2 separate regions of the Homo sapiens genome follow, and region 1 is linked to region 2. The links are contacts of gene promoters, found by promoter capture Hi-C in human tissues and cell types (Jung and others, 2019). All regions are on one chromosome and are shown on one strand. Each heading gives the region's core, a stretch centred on a gene start or on the middle of the fragment in contact. The rest is flanking DNA. Distances are from core to core; before and after follow the strand shown. Region 1 overlaps SPATA16 (spermatogenesis associated 16). Region 2 holds the start of SPATA16 (spermatogenesis associated 16).

Region 1 (6,534 bases), core at 433-2,932, 53 kb before region 2:
TTAGAGCAAATGCCATGTGGAGCCAAGAAGAATGTATATTCTGTTGTTTTTGGGTGGAGATTTCTGTAGCTATCTGCCAGGTCCCCTTTATCCAGAGCTGAGTTCAAGTCCTGAATATCATTGTTAATTTTCTGTCTTGATGATCTAATATTGACAGTGGGGTGTTGAAGTCTCCCACTGTTACTGTGTGGGACTCTAAGTCTCATTGTAGGTCTCTAAGAACTTGCTTTATGAATCTGGGTGCTCCTGTATTAGGTGCATATATATTTAGGATAGTTAGCTTTTGTTGTTGAATTGAGCCCATTACATTAATGCAATGCCCGTCTTTGTCTTTTTTGATCTTTGTTGGTTTGAAGTCTATTTCATCAGAAACTAGGGTTGCAACCCCTGCTTTTTTCTGCATTCCATTTGCTTGGTAAAGTTTCCTCCATCCCTTTATTTTGAGCCTATGTGTGTCTTTGTATGTGAGATGGGTCTCCTGATTACAGCACACTGATGGGTCTTAATTCTATCCAGCTTGCTATTCTGTGTCTTTTAATTGGCACATTTAGCCCATTTACATTTAAGGTTAATATTGCTATGTGTGAATTTGATCCGGTCATCATGATGCTAGCTGGTTACTTTGCAGACTTGTTAATGTAGTTGCTTCATCGTGTCATTGGTCTGTGTACTTCATTGTGTTTTTGTAGTGGCTGGTACTGGTTTTTCCTTTCCATATTTAGTGCTTCCTTCAGGAGCTCTTGCAAGGGAGGCCTGGTGGTGATGAATTTCCTCAGCATTTGCTTGTCTGAAAAGGATTTTATTTCTCCTTCCCTTATGAAGCTTAGTTTGGTTGGATATGAAATTCTGGGATGGAAATTCTTTGCTTTAAGAATGTTGAATATTGGCCTCCAATCTCTTCTGGCTTGTAGGGTTTCCACGGAGAGGTCTGCTGTTAGTCTGATGGGCTTCCCATTGTAGATGACTTGACCTTTCTTTCTGGTTGCCCTTAATATTTTTTTCTCCAATTTGACCTTGGAGAATCTGATGATTAGCATTTTCTTTCCGTCTTTCTTTCTTTCTTTCTTTCTTTCTTTCTTTCTTTCTTTCTTTCTTTCTTTCTTTCTTTCTTTCTTTCTGTCTTTTCTTTTTTTTTTTTTTTTGAGATGGAGTCTTGCACTGTTGCCAGGCTGAACTGCAGTGGTGTGATCTCAGCTCACTGCAACCTCCGCCTCCCAGGTTCAAGCAATTCTCCTGCCTCAGCCTCCCAAGTAGCTGGTACTACAGGTGTGCACTACCATGCCCAGCTAATTTTTGTATTTTTAGTAGAGACGGGGTTTCACCATGTTGGCCAGGATGCTCTCTATCTCTTGACCTCATGATCCGACCACCTTGGCCTCCCAAAGTGCTGGGATTACAGGTGTAAGCCACTGCACTTGGTCGCCAAAGCATAGTTTTATAAGTTAATGATACTTATTTTAATTTGTTTTTGTTTACTCATGCTGTATACCTTGATGTAGCTTTATTTAGAAACATATTTTATATGGAATTTTTACACATATGTGTGTATTTAAGCTGAATTTTATACACACTTATGATTATATAGATTTGTATATACATAAATGTATTTTTTTGTGTATGTTTAATTTTTTTGGTTGTTTACCAAGATGGATTTAGACATGCTGGAAAAAAATCAGAGGAAAGGAACTGTATAGGTATTAAATTTGAAACTTACCTTGTGAAAAATGAGTAAAGGAGCTAAGGACTTCTAGCCTGGAGAAAACTCAGATTATATTTCATGGATGTCCTAGGTACAAAGTGCCTTCCCATAGGCAAGAACATAAACATTCATTTACTCACTCAACAAATGTTTCTTAAAAGCCTACTGTGTTGTAGGAGCATGTGCAAGGGCTGGGGAAGAAATGAGATGGTATTGAACACTGAAGCTGTTGTGATGGCTGGGATTATAAACAGAGCATGGAATATTCTGGAAGGCAGATTTTGGTGAATTCAGGTTAAACATTTCTCCTGGTCAAAGCTGTCCAAGGATGAACGGACCACCCCAGAATGAACTGAATTCCCTTTCCTGCTGTATGACCCACTGGCTGGGATGGTATTTTATAAAGCAGATGTGTAGTTGGACCAGGTGACCCTTGAACTTTGAGATCCCCGATTTCTCATGCCTAAATAAGAGATAGGTTCTCCAGAGAAGATCAAAGAGGGAAAATATGGCTCAGAATACATCCATAGAGAATTGGTTTGGGTCTAGGGGAAGAACTTATTTCAGAGTAATAATTCTCTCTGGTTGTGAATGGAAGGTAGAGGAAACACTGATGTGAAGACATGCGTCCTCTGTGGTGCACTTCCTTCTCCTCCAGAGGCAGGAGGCCACATCAAATGGCTTCTGCAAGTTTATTTTAGCTTCACTATACAAATGTTCTTATCTGAGGATGGCTGAGGAAATTGGTACCTGAAAGGAAACTTCAGGAAATAACTGGGAAGCGGATGAGGCAGTGACTGTGAGGAGTTAACAGCTGTAATGGAGTGCATGATTGCCTGTTATCAGTGACAGCAGTCAGTGAAGATACGGATAAGGGCCCATTAGCTTCTGCGGGAAAATGAACCAGAGGAGGCCCTGAAAAGGGGAGCCTGTGACTTGAGGGGACCTGAAGACATGGTGGTGGTGGATTGTGTCAGGAATGTGAACGACGAGGACAAGGAGCTGTACCTTGTAAGGTGTTTCTTATGGTGAACCTTGTTGAGATGTGGAGTGAGAAAAGCACTGAATTGGAAATAATGGGGATGAAGGAAGGGATTGGAACACCAGGCAGGAGGAAACGGGAAGGTGCTGGTAAACTGCGGAAGCACTACTCCTCCAGGACTCAGCACATGGGCCCTTACTGGAAGACAGGGCCTAAGCCGTGGCTGAGATTATGACAACTGCTCAGGAATTCTGACTTGAGCGTGTTGTAAATTGTGGATTATAATCACACTTCTTGTTTTTCAACTGGATACTGTTTTCTACTAAAAAGCCTGCTTTTAACAGGTGCTAAAGAACTACCTCAAAGAAAATTCTGAAACAAAATAAAACAAAGAGGAAGAAATCCCAGAAAAAATGTTGATATAGTTTGGATGTGTCCCTATCCAACTGTCATACTGAAATGTAAATCCCAATGTTGAAAGTAGGGCTTGGTGAGAGCTGATTGGATCATGAGGTCAGATTTCTCATGGATGGTTTAGCACCATTCCTCTTGGCACTGTTCTCATGATAGTGAGTGGCTTGTCATGAGACTGTTTAAAAGTGTGTAGCACCTCCCTCACCCCACCCTACTCCTGCTTTGTCATGTGATGTGCCTGATCCCCTTTCACCTTCTGCAATAATTGTAAGCTTCCAGAGGCTTCCCCAGAAGCCAATGCCTGGTATGCTTCCTGTACAGCCTGCAGAACTGTGAGCCAATTAAACCTCTTTTCCAATAAATTACCCAGTCTCAGGTATTTCTTTACAGCAATGCAAGAATGGAATGATGCTAAAGTCTTACATTTATGAGTTTGGCGCTTCCACAAATACTGCATCACCCTGAGATCAGAAATAGGGTAACATAATTTTATCCTTTTTTTGCAAATGAGGAAATTGAAGCTTAAAGCTCACAGACATCAGCTGAGGGGGAGCCAGATTGAAAATGCAGGTTTTCTGATTGCAGTTCCTAAATGCCTTCCACTGAATTGCGGTAGCATTTTACCTGTCAAGAAAAGCTGCTGCAGTTTGTCATGCTCCTTGGCAACTCCTAAGTGCTTCTTTGCCAGTATATTCAAATGGATACATTTAACATAGGACCAATGATCTGTGATAACACAAGGATATGGTAAAAGTAGAGACGGTGCTTTACTTCAGTTTTTCTGAGCCATGAATGGGACCAGAAGAGTGGCAAGATTGCATGTAATCACTACACATGTAGAGTATAAATACAATTTAGTTTGCTTCTGGGCACCTCTCTTTTTTGAATAAAGACTGCTAACTTTCCCTTGATCTGACATCTTAATGTTGGTTTCAGGCCTATTAGGTGGGAGGACATTGACAACTCACCTTACATATTACAGCTTCTGGGAAAAAAAAAGTTGCTCAAAGAATATGTCTTTCTGATATATGTCTACCACCATCACTTCTGCACAAAGATGATAGGGCATATTTCTTTTTTCTTCTGACCTAGCTCCTTTTTTATCATTAGATAGCTTAATATTTTTCTTGTAACCTTCTTTGTCCTTAAAACTAAAAACATATGTAAGCAGTAGCTTTAACTTAGTAGACTAATGTCAGTAAGAAGAGAGAATAGACCTATTAGTAAATTCATAAATGTTTATACTTTTAATGTCAAATATAATCATTAATTTATTTGACTTTTTTTTTTAACTTGCTGCAGTCATTACTTGCTCTTCCAATAGGTTTGGATTTAATGTGTAGAAATTATTTTGTCTGCTTTCCACTTCTTACTGACATTTCACATCAAGTTAATATTGGCTCTTGGTTTTTCTTCATAATTATCTGTTTGTATCAGGACCCTAATTAATGAATTTGCTAATATTTGTTTCCTCATTGTAAAGTGAGGTCAAGCTGTCTTTTGTAGCCAAAAAGTCAACATATTTTCATATAGAATTGTCCAATGATAAGACAGTAATAAGGAACACTTGCAAGACATTTTTCTAAGTGCTAGAAAAATGTTTAAATGAAATGTATTAATAAATGAAGGTTGAGTTGAACAAGAAGGTGGAAAAATGGTATTTGAAGAGAGGAAATCAAATCTTTTCATATAAAACCAATTGATTTTCAAATGATTTTGAAGGAACTAGCCCCTACGTTTGAGAAACTATAGGCCAGGTTATTTATAAAATAAAGATGCAGCATAATTTTCCATGGGTCTTTATAGCTTTTGCATGTCTTGTCAACAAGACAGTAACCACCCTTTGTTCTAGATTATCTTTTCCAGAATATTTATATAGAGAATAGCCTGGGAAGAGGCAGGTAGTGTCTCCCTCCATAAAAAAGGACAGGCATGCTTACTGCCCACTATAAAAGATCTAGGTTACCTAAGCTTGAAGTTCCTCTCCTGCACAATCCTTGTTGTGTGCAACCATTCATCAAGACCCATCTGGATCAGCCCTGTGGGATAAGCAGAATTGATGCAAATATGCTGATGCTCATACTGCTTGTGGTGCCATCAGCAATAATATTCTTTGTGACCCAGGAGTTTCTATCTCTTAAATACTGCCATCCATGAACTCTGGCAAGCTATTTTGTCAGCTTGCAAGTCAAGTAATATCTCATAGTCTTCACAGTTCTTGACAAGCCAGTAATTGAGAAGAAAGCAATTTAGCACAAAGTGTTCTGCATTAGCCAGAGGCTGTGGTAGGCAGAATAATGTCTCCTCAAAGATGTCTATATCCTACTCCCTGGAACCTGTGGCTACGTTATGCAACATGGCAAAGGAGAATGAAAGCTGCACATAGAATTAAGGTTGTTAATCAGATAAACAGATTATTTTAGATTATTGGAGTGGGCTCAATATAATCACAAAGTTTCTTTGAATGTGAAATAGAGATACAGAAGAGTCAGTGTCAAACTGGCTTTGAAGACGGAGGAAGGGTCCAACAGCCAAAGATTATAGATGGTCCCTAGAAGCTGGAAAAAGCCAAAACCCAGATTCTCCCCTAGAGTCTACCCAAGGAATTTAACCCTGCAAACACCTTGATTTTAGCCCAGTGAGACCCATTTTGGACTGTAAGATAATAAACTGTATTGTTTTAGCCACTAAATTTGTGGTAACTTGTTAGAAATTTCTAGTTAACCACAGAAAACAAATACAGAGGAGACAGTTAAACATTTCAGACAAAAAAGGTTTTGTTTCTTTTCTCATTGCCTATTTGGTTTATGCTTATCCTTTGGATTTCAGCTTAAATATTCTGCCTTTTCTGAGAGTTCCTGTCTTCTTTTTCTGAAGTAGTCCCCTCCTGTTATTCTCTATCATTGTACTGTATTTCCTTTTTGTAGCACTTTCCACAAATTGCAATTAAAATACAGTTTTATTGTAATTTTTATGCACCTAAAACACACACACACACACACACACACACACACACACACATATATATATATATGTTTCAAGTTATGATTGACAGTTATCTCTTTCTGTTTTGGGTGAAAGTCTATCCCCAATTCTAAGACTATGTTCTTCTTACATTTTTAATTTAAAATGTTCTTTAAATGAAATGGTGGTGTTAGAAGATAGTAGTTTCTATTTAAAAAATTGTCTTTCTTTGCTAACAAAATATGACAAGCTATGTTGACTCTTATTTTAAAAAATGGTACTGATTAATGAAATAAAAATTGTGGGAAGCACAGCTCTAGACTCTGTCAGATGCCATGTACTGTCACAGTACATTGTTCTTCCTTTACTGGAGCATGTTTACACATCTTATTTCCATTGCATTCTCATTTCTGAACTATAGTCTTCTGGAAAGGAGAGAACATGTCTGCTTTGGATTATATCCCCAGAGTTTAAC
Region 2 (6,575 bases), core at 2,465-4,964:
CAGAAGATAAAGCTTCTATGAACACTAAAACTTCCTCCTTTTCTACATTCATAAATGGTGTCAATTTCAATGTATTTCAAGTCTTTTCTTTCAATCTGGTAATGACTCTCATATTTAACATGATGCTTCTTCACTGTTAACTACATCAGTAAATATAAAGGGTGAGGAAGTTAACTGAGAGATCGGAACTTTTGAAAGCCTTTAATTAAGCCTTGGCCCCAATACCTAAGAAGGTTCAGAAGCCTTCTGTGTGTTTATTCCTCCATTATCTTCTGCTCTGAGGGGGATCCCATGGACTCTCAACACACACACACACACACACACACACACACACACACACACACACACACACAGACACACACACGTCTCCCTAAAGAAGAGACCAGATGTATTAGGTCTGGGAATGTATGTTAGAGAGGACTACTGCAATCCTTTCTTTCTTCACCTTAAACTTAGGTTTCCAAATGTCTGTTCAACAGGAATGAGAAGTGATTTATATCATGTTTTTGCTCCTTACATCTTCAAGTTAACAAAATTGAGCTGATTTCTAACAAGTTAAATGCATACTTTTTTTCTTGGTGGGGGGGTGATAATGCAATGTCTTCTCAAGCTATAACTTCGGTGATCGTTCAAGACAGCATTGAATTCTTCTGCCTGAGTTATGCTGGCTAATAGGAATTTAATTGAGAACCAGTGGGAGAGCACTGAAGCATTCATGCATGTGAAATCAGATGAACACCCACAATGTGGAATTTCCTAAGGAAAGTTATTCTGGCAGAGAAATACAGACCAGGTTGAGTGCCAGTAACTTTTAAGCTAAGATGTGGAGCTATCTTCCTAATAAGTAACGAGCTAAAGGTCCCTAAAGAAAAGTGAGGCCAATATTTTCAACTCTATATTTTCAAACATTTTAAAAACATCAGCTCAGAGTTATATACAATTCCCTTCCTCTGTAAGATATTAATCTTCCTTAACTTTGATTCCATATAATAATGTTTATGTTTGAAAGGCACATGCACAACTTATTTAGGTAAATCTAAAATAAACAGCAAGACAGAATAACTAATTTATCTATGAAAAGAAATTGAAATCAGGAGCTGATTTCTATTCAGTAATTATAATACAAGTCTTCCTGAAACATTTCCTTTCAACTGGCCTACTTAAAACCATGTCAATTTTCCACTTCTTGTGCAATTCTAGATGACAGTGTGAATTCAGCTTCAGTTTCTACTCATAAAGGTTAAAGAGACGCTTTCTAACACCTATCCTGTATCAGGTCAACTCAATTACCTTTCAAAGTTGCCTAAATCGTGAAATATTGGTGGTTCAAATACATGAATTCTGCACATTTCAGAATAGATGTACATAGGTGTACATAAATGTATATCACATCATATAGTATGCAAATACATTTACTCCTGGAGGCTTTCTAAAATGTAAAGCTAAAGCTGAATCTTCACCTTCCAGTAATTTTATAATAATTTTCCCCATCATATAGGGATTTGGAATTCTGATATCAGTCATAGCCATTGGGTTCTGTTTTCTTATTCGCAAAATGGAGTTAATTATAATATCTGCCTCATGTAATTGTTGAGAAGAGTAATATAGGAAGATTGCCTGAAAACAGTAACCGCTCAATAAATGCTAACTATTGTTCTATCATTATCATCATTTTTGTTATTGCTGTTATTATTGTTCAGCAATTTTTTTAAAAATTAGACAATTAGAAAAATGCTTTCTATTAGACAGATGGCTCATGCTCATTCATTGCATATATTTTGAAATTTAGCTAGAGCTATGATAAATTAGTCTTTATTTTGCTATATTTAAGCTAGACTGCTATAATATTTTATTTTATAACATCCCTGAAAAACTCAGCAAGCTCTTCGTGAGTGCAAAATGTTACAACTTGAACATTACTTTCCAAGAAGATGACTCAACATATTCTACACTAGTTGAAAGACAATACTCCAGGCTTTCTGATGTAAAAGGATTTAAAAACCCTTGAGCATATGGTGTTTGCACTGCTTTTGTTACTATGGCCTACAATTGTTGGGGTACCTATTCATTTATTTCAAACTGATGTGTCACATAAAAGGAACAACAACAAAAACACAACATGCAGTGAAATTCTATGTAGAGGAATGTAGCTTCAGTCACTGTGTGTCTTAATTAGAAAGAATAGCCGGGCGTAGTGGCTCATGCCTGTAATCCCAGCACTTTAGGATACTGAGGTGGGCATATCACTGGAGGTCAGGACTTTGAGACCAGCCTGGCCAACATGGCAAAATCATGTCTCTACTAAAAATACAAAATTAGCTGGGTGTGGTGGCGTGTGCTTGTAATCCCAGCTACTCAGGAGGCTGAGGCAGGAGAATCACTTGGACCCAGGAGGCAGAGGTTGCAGTGAGCCAAGAAGGCACCACGGCACTCCAGCCTGGGTGACAGAGCAAGACTCTGTCTCAAAACAAACAAACAAACAAACAAACAAACAAACAAACTCCTGCAGTAAGGATTAACTGTGGGTTTATGCCTGGAGATCATTTTAAGGTTCTGTATCTCACAGTTCATGCTCATTGGTTGCTTTCTTTTAGTCATAATCAATTTCCAAGGTGCTAGTTTCACTGCTCAGAGGATGAACAACTTAATGAAATTAGGGTAGTTTCTGTTATAATACTGCTAGTACATGAAACTTAATCATAAAGGGTTGAACAAAAACACAATACAAAGTTTTTATGCATTTCTTTCAAACTAAGTCTTACTAAAAATGGTAAACACTTCCCTGATGCTTCAAAAACAGAGAACTTTACTGATATCTATTAATATTTTATGGGTAATAAATCCAAAATGCAAATTTTAAACAAAGCTGGAACCTATTTTTAATTGCTCACGCTGAACAACCTTTGAACAGCAAGGTCCTTGTAAAAGACATTCATTCATTCATTTACTCATTCATACAGCAAACATTTCAGAGCACGCATTTTACGCCAGGCATGATGTTAGGATACAGAAATGATGACATGGTCTATGTCTTACAGGGAGCTTGGATTGTTTCTCTCCCTAATATCCTACTCCTTGACGTTCAATGTCTTCAATCCACAGTAATATTATGCGTTAAGGAGACAACAACCCGTATCACAAATGATAAAATGTGAACTCTGAATTAGCAGTCATCATCTCCCACTTGACTACAAGAAGATGTCCTCAAACTATACACTTTATTAGGGAATATATATTAGAATAAAGCAAAACAAAACAAAAAATCTGTTATTGGGAAACCAAGTGGGATCTTAGTCTTTACTTTCTCACCAGAGTGGGGAAGGATAGGGTGACCCGGTGCAGCGGACAGGGAACCACTTTGGAACTACCTGTCTTCTAACTGCCTGCAGGAGATGATTTCTTGGTTACTTATTAGGGCTTTTTATAAGCAACATTCCTCATTCCTCGCGTGGGCAGGAAGAAAGGAGCTCCTGTTTTCCCAGCTTACTCCATCTTCACCTGAGGGTCATCTCCCTTCCTTCCCACCCAGCCACTGAACGAGAAAAGCTTTAACTGGGCAGACCTGAATGATTCTCCTCCTACCTAAGCAGTTGTGGCTCAGCCCCGCGGGGACAGGGCGAAGCTCTGGACTCCTCCCAGCCACAGCATCTGCCAACACCGGCTTCCCAACGTCCCACTGCGAGGCCTGATCAGGCTGCTTGCTCGCGGGGACGCCAGGACTTGAAACGTCCCGTGCCACGAGGCCCATCGCGCCCACAAGTGGCGCGGGTCACTGGCACCTCCCTAGTCTTTCCTCTTGAGTTGCACTTGATGTTTCCAATAATAAAAACAAGGTTATTTATATTTTTCCGTTCAGATTCTAAAAGCAATATGATCAATAAAATAATCTGGAAGATACAGAAAGATGTACATAAAATAAAAATTATCTGTATTCTAAAGAGAAGCACTGAAAACATTTTCATGTATATCTTTGCAGTCTCTTTACTATGAATAGATTAAAAAAAAATCATACCATTCTGTCTCTTTCACACAAAACTACACAGATACAATATAGACTTTATACATACATTTTATAAAGTTTTGTATTTGTTCTCTTTTAAAGAAAATTATTTTAAACATTTTACTCTAAAACCATTTATGAGATCTCATAAGCTCCTACCTATGTATGTTTTAGAGTAAAATATGTATATTATATAGAATATATAAATGTATATTATATATCAAATGTATCATGTATTATACTAACATGTTATATGATAATATTATATAACATGTTATGTTATATATGTAATTATGTATATTTAAACATAAACGCACTTTACCTTCTATGCATTTTAGGCAGCACATTACTGATACATTTGAAGAAATCTATGTACCCCTAAGGACTGCGTCTTCCTCCTAGCCACTGTTGTGACTTGTATGACAAACATCCCTTGCTTTCCTTTATAGCTTAACAAATCATACATGCATCACTTTTTATTGAAATATGACATATATCCAGAAAAATGAATGAACTGCAGTGTGTTGAATAAATTATCACAACGTGAACCCATCAGAATAACCACCACCTCAATAAAAAATTAAATTCTTAGCACCCCAGAAACCCCTTCTAATTTCCATTCCTTTTCATTCACCGTAGGTAGTGACTGTTGTGGTTTCTAACACCACAGTTTAGTTTTGTCTGTTTTTGAACATAATAAAAATAGTCCAGTTATGGTTTTACTACTCTATGCTGCCATTGATTACAGTAGTATAATCTATCTTTTACAAAGTACACTAAATATGATGACTAAATTTCACTTCTTGGGTAAAAAGTTTGTCTTATTCACACTTTCCCACCCCCACTCTCTCCTACCTCTCTGCAAAAAACGGGGAAACTACGCTTCAAGGTAAGGTGTAAGGATTGATTGAGATGAGGTGCATGAAGCCTCTGCTGTGTGATAACAGGCTTTTCAATCCCTCTGCAGTAGTCATAATCTCCCTACTACCTCTCACTGATGTATCTCCATCCTGCCTTCAAAGCTCTGCTTCCTTAAAAAATTTTTTTAACCTAGTAAACAGTTCTGCAAGTTTTGATTGTAAGTGCCACACAATTCAAGATTTAAAACATTACTTTCACCCATAAAAATAACACTATGTCTCTGTAGTCAACTCAGCGGATCATTTCCACACCCTGGCATCTACTGATGTGTTTTTTGTCCCTTTAGTGTTATCTTTTCCAAAGGTCAAATAAATGGAATTATATAGCATGTAGTCTTTTGAATCAGACTTCTTTCATTCAGCATATTACATATGAGATTCACATTGCTGTGGTGTTTATCAGGAGTTCAGTCCTGTTTATTGCTGAGTAATGTTCTATTTGTGTGCATATACCACAGTTTATCTATTCACTAGTTGAGGAATATTTGGGGGTGGTCATGAATAAAGCTCCTATAAATATTTGTATACGTATGTTTGTGTAAATTTAAGTTTTACTTTACTTAAATACCTACTGATCAGATTGCTGGGCCATATGGGGTTTAACTTCATAAGAAACAGCCAAATTATTTTCCAAAATTTCTGTACCATTTTGCTTTCCCATCAGCAATACATGAGATTTCCAGTTACTCTCACATCCTCACCAGCACTTGGTTTTGTCAGATTTTCTTTTCATTTTAAAAATAATATTTCCTTTGGGTGTCTCCTTGTGGTTTTAATTTTCATTCCCTAATAGCAAATGACATTGAGTATATTTTCATGTGCTTATTTGCCATTTATATCTTCTTTGTTGAAGTGCCTGGCCCAATCTTTTGCTCATTTTAAAATAAATGGATTGTTTTATTACTTGGTTTTTTACTTGGTTTATTTTTACTTGGTTTATTACTTCTTTTATTCTAAATATAAGCCCTTTATCAGACTTGTGTTTTAAGTATGTTTTTCCAGTCTGTGCTTGTCTCTTTATTCTCTAAGCCACATCTTTCAAGGAGTAGAAGGTCCTAACTTTGATACATTTCATTTACCTTTTTTATGGCTTGTGTCTTTGATTTTATGTCTAAGAAATCTTTTTCTAACCCCAAGTCACAAAGATTTTTCTCCTAAGTTTTCATTTGAGAGCTTCCTAGTTTTTAGGTTTTACATTTACGATATGATCATTTATGACTTAATTTTTGTGTGGGGTGCAAGTTATGAGTTGAGGTTAATTTCTTTTTGCAAATAGAGGTCCAGTTGTTCCTGCACCATTTGTTGAAAAGACCATCCTTTTTCCATTGAATGGCCTTTGTACCTTTGTTGAAAAATCAATGCACAAGTCTATTTCTGTACTCTCTAGTCTGTTCTATTGATCTATATGTTTGCTTTTTCTTCAATATCACACTGTCCTGGTTACTATAGCTTTATAAAGTTCTAATTTCAGATAGTGCATATCCTTCAACTTTGTTCTTCTTTTCCAAAAGTATTTTGTATATTCTAATTTCTTTGCTTTTCCATGTAAATTCTAGAATCACCTTGTTGATTTTTATCGAAAATATCTTGTTACAATTTTGATTGGAATTGTTGAAATCTATAGAACAATTTAGGAAAAACTGACATTTTAGCAA

Evidence for each region. Contacts are between HindIII fragments. The study calls those that stand out against the background at their distance.
Region 1: a contact is called between a fragment that was not itself captured here and the fragment with the promoter of SPATA16 in region 2, in 2 of the 25 tissues and cell types used here (bladder and pancreas).

What each region holds. Positions count from the first base shown.
Region 1 is chr3:173,086,962-173,093,495 of GRCh38, forward strand. The region is part of intron 2 of SPATA16 (spermatogenesis associated 16); the gene reads right to left. Among named protein-coding and RNA genes, the nearest start is that of SPATA16, 51 kb to the right of the region's middle. The HindIII fragment of the contact is 3,618 bases long and covers 1-3,491 here.
Region 2 is chr3:173,137,521-173,144,095 of GRCh38, forward strand. SPATA16 (spermatogenesis associated 16) reads right to left here and starts at 3,715. Exons shown (of 11, transcript NM_031955.6): 1 at 3,583-3,715. All of the region lies in intron 1 of LOC105374220 (a long non-coding RNA gene), which reads left to right. RefSeq lists an enhancer at 3,201-3,702. The HindIII fragment of the contact is 14,900 bases long and covers 1,780-6,575 here.